2 separate regions of the Homo sapiens genome follow, and region 1 is linked to region 2. The links are contacts of gene promoters, found by promoter capture Hi-C in blood cells and fetal thymus (Javierre and others, 2016). All regions are on one chromosome and are shown on one strand. The core of a region is centred on a gene start or on the middle of the fragment in contact, and the rest is flanking DNA. Distances in the headings are between cores, read along the strand shown.

The links. The method cuts DNA at HindIII sites, captures the fragments that hold promoters and counts their contacts. A CHiCAGO score of 5 or more calls a contact.
Region 1: a contact is called between the fragment with the promoter of RRBP1 here and the fragment with the promoter of LINC01431 in region 2, in 3 of 17 cell types (non-activated CD4 T cells, naive CD8 T cells and total CD8 T cells). The highest score is 9.5, in non-activated CD4 T cells.

What each region holds. Positions count from the first base shown.
Region 1 is chr20:17,680,904-17,684,578 of GRCh38, forward strand. RRBP1 (ribosome binding protein 1) reads right to left here and starts at 1,339. Exons shown (of 25, transcript NM_001365613.2): 1 at 1,125-1,339. RefSeq lists enhancers at 24-696, 1,950-2,009 and silencers at 270-579, 610-659, 690-1,019, 1,250-1,669. The HindIII fragment of the contact is 11,518 bases long and covers 1-3,675 here.
Region 2 is chr20:23,356,050-23,359,569 of GRCh38, forward strand. It overlaps LINC01431 (long intergenic non-protein coding RNA 1431), which reads right to left and starts at 2,078. Exons shown (of 3, transcript NR_109884.1): 1 at 1,906-2,078; 2 at 1,002-1,088; 3 at 545-920. RefSeq lists enhancers at 1,504-1,593, 1,784-2,173 and a silencer at 2,224-2,413. The HindIII fragment of the contact is 4,137 bases long and covers 1,062-3,520 here.

The sequences.
Region 1 (3,675 bases), core at 89-2,588, 5.7 Mb before region 2:
ATTTGCAGACCAGGAAATGGAGACCCCGAACGAAACAACTTGGTCGGGGTCACCCTCGCCAGCCGGGGCACTCTAGAGCTAAAACTCGCGACTTATCATTCGGAGAGGGGTCCCTGAAGCACTGCGGGCGCCCCACTGGAAGCGCAGACCCCGGCCTGCCTCCCCTAATCAGGGCGCAGCGGGAGAGCCGGCCGGGCCGGGGCGGGCACCAGGCCGGGTGCCAGCGCGCTTGGCCGGCCCGGAGGTGTCCGCTTCCGCCCGGGGCTGGCACCGCCGGCCCATTCATCGTGGCCGCGGGCGGGGCGGGCCGGGCCCCGGGCGCCCTCGTCCCCCCGCCGGGAGCCCTCGAGCCAGGCTCCGCGCAGCCCAGCCGGGGAAACGGTGGCCCCGGCCCCGCCGCCAGGGGGAGCAGGGAGCCGCCTCCCGCACTCCGGGAAGTTGCCACCGCGGCCGCCCGGCGTCCGTGCCATGGACAGACCCGGTCCCTGCGCCGCGAGCCCTGCGGCCCCGGCCCGCCCCGTCGGGGGCCGTCCCAGCCCCGCGAAGCGCCAGCGGGCCGCGGCCCGGGACCGGCGCGCTCGGCCCGTGGGCCCCCATTCAATCCCGCCCTCCTCCCCTCGGCCGGCCTCCGCCGCCTTCCGCCCGCACCCCACCCCTCCGGCCCGGACTCCAGCCCGGCAACGTCATCCGGCGGCTTCCCGAAACTTAACCCCTTCCTCCGCCAGCTGTGCGCCGCCCCGCCCCGCCCCGCCGCCAACTTTCTTCGCCCAACTTCGGAGCGCGCTGGCCGGCCCGACGGCCCTGCCGGGAGGGAGGGAGGCAGGGAGCGGTCGCCACGTCGCGCCCGTCTGCCGCCGCAGCTCCCCGGACGGCGAGGGCCGCGGGGTCCACACCACGGGGCGCGCCCTGCCTACGCCCCGGTACGGCGCTTGCCCGGCACCCCCGCCCCGAGTCCGACCCCGACCCCGATGGTGCACGGCCGCGGCGGCAGGCGGCGGGCGGCGGGCGGGCCGGGGGAGGGGCCGCCGAGGAGACGTGTCACTCGCGGCGCAGCGCGGCCGGCCCCGGCCCCCCGACGGCCCGGCCCGCGCGCGGCCGCTGCAGGGCCCGGCCAAGTTTCTTACCTGCAGCCAGAGACGCGAGAGGGAAAGCGAGAGGGCAGGAGCCGCCGCCTTCGCAGCCGCCGCGGAGCCGGGAGAGAGGAGCCGGCCAAGCCTCCGCCAAGAAACCGCCCCCGAGCAGCTGTAGACGCTGCGACCCTGACGCCGCCCGCCCCGTCTGCCGTCCGCTCCGGCCGCTCGCTGGCTGCGTGCGCGCGTGTGGAGTCGTGGCACTTTCTGCCTCAGAGCTGGCGAACGGCCCCCTCCGCCGGGATCGCCGCCTCCTGCCTTCCCCACCCGGGCCAGCCATTCATCGAGCCGCCTCTTCCCATTGGTCCGCACCCCGCCACTCTGCCGGTCGCTGGCCAGTCAGGACGCGGGTGGCCGAGCCGCGGCGGCGGCCATTGGGCAGAGAGGAGGGTCTCCACCTCGGCCAATGGGAGAGGGGAGGAGCTGCGGGGAGGTGAAGGGGGCAGGGCTGGGGAGAGGCGGGGCCGAGCGGCGCGGCGCTCGGCCGTGCGCGGGGCGGGGCGGAGCAGGAACGCCCCGCCCACCGAGGGGGGGGTCTCCGGCCAGCTCCGCCCACTCTGGGCCCGCGGCGCTCCCAGCAGTCTCTGACTAGGATCCGGCTCTGCCTAGGCGGGAAGCAGAAGGTTCGGGTCCCGGCGACCCCGGGCCTGCGCCTCTGGATACCGCTGGGCTGACATGGCGGTGGCTGAACAGGGTTGCGCAACCGCGAACAGCCAAGGAAGCTGCTTTATTTAAACCCAACTAACTTCCCCCGAAGCAGCGCCCCCTCGGGCCGCCGGGTATGAGGACAAGCTCTGCTGGGGGTCAGCCCAGGGAGAGCAAGTTCTTATCATCAAAGAGATTGCAATCAGCACCAGAAGGAATTTCCTTCAGTAAATGGAGGAATTGGGGTGGAAGAGCCAGAAGGTGCACGAGGAATTGAAGCGGATGTCATCGCCCTCGTTGTTAGGGAGGGTACAACTGAGGCACGGTCTATTTAAGATACTCAACCAAATCACAGCCGGCAGAGCAATAATTACAATCCACTCTGTGGCGTTTTATTCCATGCGTTGGGGAAGGTGAGAGGTTCTAACCTAAGAAAACTCATCCGTGTCCCACAAAACGGAGCAACTGGTACTTCCTCATTCCCTGACTTTCTCCCCAATATCAGCCAACACTCAGTCTTCATAATTAGTCAAGTCTTTAAATTAAAATAATTTTAGGCTTGATTTTTAACCATTATGTCAGCGTCTCTTAAAGCCAACCCTTTGAACTTGAGCCAAAGCCAGCTTCTTTGGAATTTTGGATTCTGAGCGACCAAAGGCTGCCTAGACTGCCCCCCATCACTTCCCTAGCTCCTGTTGCTGCAGAATCCCGTGCCTAACATCTATTTCTTGGACAATTTTCAATCTTCCCTGTCCCCATTTGTCACTAGTACTGTACTAGCTGTTGTTAGAAAGATGTGAAAAATACAAGCCTTCATGGGGAATAAAGAGCGATTGGGTTGAAATTAAACTGTTCATTCCTATTTTTAATCTTGGCGGTTCCTTAGCCCATTAATGATTAATCAGCAGGAATTAACCTGGATTAACTCTGGAACACTCAGTCATTTTCCAGCAGTGAGACCCGGCTTCAAATGAAAGTCAAGAATCCCAGCTTCTGGCTGGCAATTGCTACCAATGAGTCCTACTTGACCAGGGCTGGGCCATCTAACCTTTCTGAACATGGGTATACTCCTTTAGGACAATCACTCCTTCCTCTGGGTTTCAGGGAGGAAATTCATTCGTTCATTCATTCATTCATTCATTCACCGGTGTTTGTGGAGTGCCCGGTATACAGTGCTAAGCTGGGCAAGCAGCCTAGAATGACACATAGGTCCAGTGAAGACCCAGCTGCCCTCAAGGGCCTGTCCAGGGACAGGGACCTCCTTTATCCTGTTCACTGTTTATCTTTTTCCGGAAGCAGATCCTGGCAGTAGGGTTTGTTCAATCATTCATTTGGGGGATAATCATAAGAAACATTGGTGGAGAAGTGGGATGAGCAGGAGCCAATAAGGGGACCAACATCAAGCCTGTGACTGGTGTGGGCACACAGGGCTCGGCGTCTCTGGGGATGCTGTGAAACTGTAGAACACACCCCAGAGACGTCCCAGCTGAGGGGTGAGGACCTGGTTATTTATCCAGCCACTCCCAGTCCTCATTGGTTAACAGCTTCTTCTGGGGGGACTTTAACCCCCGCCCCCATCAAGCTGGAGAAAGCCTTGCAGCAAGAAGCCCTTGGCAGAATGGTGAGTGCCTGGAGGCATGTCGGGGGCCACAGCAGTGTCTCCCACACTGTGAACCATAGTCCGACACAGCACCTGCACAGAATAGAGGCTTGTGAATATACGTGTTCTGTAAATATTGTCCCATGAGCGATAACATTACAAAGTCCTTAGGAGTGAGGAGTGTTTACAGAAAAGGGGCTCCCTGTTTGTTCCCTTACATAACTTAACATTTGATTTGGCCTCAACACAACATTTGTTTCGGGATGGAAGAGCAGCCCTGTCTGAGCCTTTGCATTTCCT
Region 2 (3,520 bases), core at 828-3,327:
GGTCCCATGTGGAAACACCAAAATAGCCCCAGCTCACTCAACCAAAGACTTCTTTTTAAATGAGAAATCCCATCTTAAGCCATTATCAATTTGGGGTGTGTGACACTGACACACAGCAGTAATCCTAAGTGAGGAAAAGGATTTGAATGGGGCAGACTGTATTCACTACAGGGCCCAGAAGACGCGGGGACGGCCCCAACTACTGCCCTTCAGGTCCGGGCCAGACCCGCAATGGGCAGGATGGGTAGGGTACAGGGCGTGCGTCCCCACCTACACTAGCCTGGTTGCAGGCGGCCTCCAAGGGCACAGCGGGAAGCTCCGCCCTTGCCATGCCCCCGCCACCGGGGAAGGCAAGACAAATGTGCGTGGCACCCTCCTCCTTCGGTTCTGGGACACATCTCCACCAAGCGGCCGTTCGGCAGGTAGGGCCAGATGGTCCCGGCTCGTCCCTGCGGGTGGGGTTTCCCACCGGCGGAAAGCGCAAGCCCCTCCCGTTCTGTCCAGCGCGCTGCCCGCTGCCTTAATTATAAGGCAGATGAAGGTGAAAAGTTTACTGGTTTTTATTTTTGCAACTTTTTGTAAATTTTAAATTATTCTAAAAAGTTTAAGAAATGAATTGTGCTGAGGAGTATAATCAGCACGCAGTGCGAGTTCTTATAGTGGCCACGTCCACAAACCCTGTGTTGTGGAAGAACAGAAGGCGTTCTGCTTTCTGTGTTTCACCGTCTCTCCCTCGCTTTAACTTCCAGGTCCCGGAGTAGTGGTGACAGCAAGGTCTGTTGGTTTCTTTGGTTTAGGTTTGATGAAAGGCCACTCCAGTGGGGTAGGAGGTGGGCAGGGAGAACAGGGGCTAGGGTGGGAGGGGCAGGAGTTGGGTCCTGGGGGTGGAGGAGATGACGGGGAGAGTGGCTTGGAGAAATCTGCAAGAAGAGACATTGGAAGGCCGGGGGAGGTGAAATGGACACTGGGTGAAGCTGAGGAGTCCTAGTGAACCATGTTACCTCTGATCCAGATATTCCCAGAACAACAAGAAATCAAGCTTCTGAATGTGGTCTGTTGCAAGCTTGGAAGGTGCACACCTGTTGCTGCTAATTTGGACAATTTGGGGGAAGAGCAGAGATTTAGATGTTGCTTTGGTCGACCTTAAACACCAGCCCTGTCTCCCCTACCACTTTGCCAAATTAGGGCCCCGTCTCTCTAAAGAGCAAACAGAAAACTGCAGAAAGTTGCTTTGTCCTGTAGACAAGAGGCTGGGACTAGGTAAGAGGAGGGAGCCAGGATGCAAAACTTAAGACCAGCCTGGCCAACAAGGCGAAACCCCGTTTCTACTAAAAATAGAAAAATTAGCTGGGCGTGGTGGCAGGCGCCTGTAATCCCAGCTACTCAGGAAGCTGAGGCAGGACAATCGCTTGAACCCAGGAGGCGGAGGTTGTAGTCAGCCAAGATCGCGCCACTGCATTCCAGTCTGGGCGACAGAGCGAGACTCCGTAACAAAAAACAAACAAACAAACAAAAAATCTTAAACATCACCAACGAGCCTTGTGAGAAATGGTTTAACGTTGTGATACCTTGCCCAATTTTAAGGCAGGTAAAGGTGTGTGTTAAAACTCAACTCTTGAACTGAACCCCAGCTGCCCTTTAGGGCATGCTTAATTTGATGTGGACTGTAACCTCTTTTGCAGCATTGTAGAGATTTGGAATCTGCACATTAGGAAGAGACCCCACGAGGCGGTGGCGTTCTTTCTCGTTCGGAGCTCACACCCCTCCTGGGGAGCCCTCTCCCAACCCGGGCTCCCGGTAAGCGCGGTCGCCGCTCCTCTGAGGGCTGCTCTTCCCTCGCTTCTGAGCCGAGGCCCCCGCGACACGAACGCCACGCCCGAAGCGCTCTTGCCAGGACGTACTGACCGAGGGTAGGCTGCCCAGCCGGGTGGTAACGTTGAGGAAAGGACAGCAGCTTCGCAAAGGAGCTGGGTAAAACCACGCCCAGACCCCGCTGGCCACCAGCCCGAGACCAAGACGCAGGCGGTGGCGCCGGTTTCTCACTCAACCGCAGGTTCCAGCATCCCCGATACGGCCGACGTCATTACCCTGCGACCGCTCAGGACACTTCTGAGGACTCTTTTGACAGCTAGTAATCGCGCGGTGGCGCGACCACGTGACTCCGGCGCCCTAGCCCCGCCCTCCGTCTCCAAGGAGCCCTGGAAGGAGCTATACCAGCGGCTCCAGAAGGCGGGGAGAGGCGGGGCCGGACTCCGGGACAGCCAATGGGCGAGGAGTGCCGCCCAGCCTGACCCACCGGCCGCTCCCTCACGAGCCTGTGGGCGTGCGCCGGCTGTGCAGGTGAGGGGCAGCGAGGGCGCCTAGTGGGCAGGGCGCCGGCGTTGCGCGTGCGTCAGTGTTCTTCCTTGTGCAGTTTAGAATTTGATACATTTCTTTCCAGTCTATTTCTATAGATTTGTTTTCAAATCACATCAGACCCTATGTAAAATAGTGTACCGTCTTTACTCATTATAACATGGTGAGCATTTCCCCAAGCTATTACACATATTTTTAAACATTGTTTTAATGACCGGCATAATAATCCAGTGCTTGGATATATCAAATTCTTCGGCCATCTCCTTATAGGTGAGATTGTTTCCAAAGTTTCACTAATGTAAGTGCACTGCAGTGAACGCCCTTACGTAACAATTGTTCACTCCCGTGTACTTTTCTCGTGCAGAGTTCTACAGCATGAAACACTATATTTAACTTTGTCAGGTTGATGTTTATCAGTGGTTTATTATTGTTTTTATAGTATTCCATTGTCAGTGAAGTATGCCATTCACACTGTCAAGTGAATTGTCTATTTGTATTATTTAAAAAAAAGATCACAAACATAGAAAGGAGAGCTTTATTTCTTTAAACGGTGATAACCTGCAAGGTGGCCCTTCTGACAGGCTGGGAAGCATAGCTTCTGGCAGAAGCTCAAAAGGCAGGCAGCTGGAGGGAAGGGGGCCTAAGACAGGAATTTAAGCTGAAGGACTTAGCCAAGTACACATATGAACAGGCCACAGGAAGAGCTATGAATATTCATGAAACGGGTCCTGACCCATGCTTACTGGACAAACGTGCATGTTACAGGTGACCTATGTTTACTTTGGGGTGGACTCTTAGCATTTACAGGTATTCATGTATTACATTTAGACCCTATAAGTTGAAAGATCTTTTCAGGACACCGATGCACTTGTGTGCAGCCTCTGTAAACCGCCAGAATCAGCCCCTGTTCGGTTGTTTCCCATCAGGAAAAAGTTACTGCAGTCAGTCTCTGGTCCAATCAAAGCAGTAATTATTTGTGGAAGTGGTGGGGCTGGGGCAGGGGGCGTGTCAGTCAGCATGTGGAGGTGGATGAAAAGCACATTGTTTGAATATTGCTTATCTAGAGGCCAGTGCTTGTTTGGCTGCCAGAGAATAAAAACCTTGTGGCAGTTAAGGCATAGTTTCTTCTTGAAGTGTAGAGGTGCATGACAACCCTTGCCAGGCA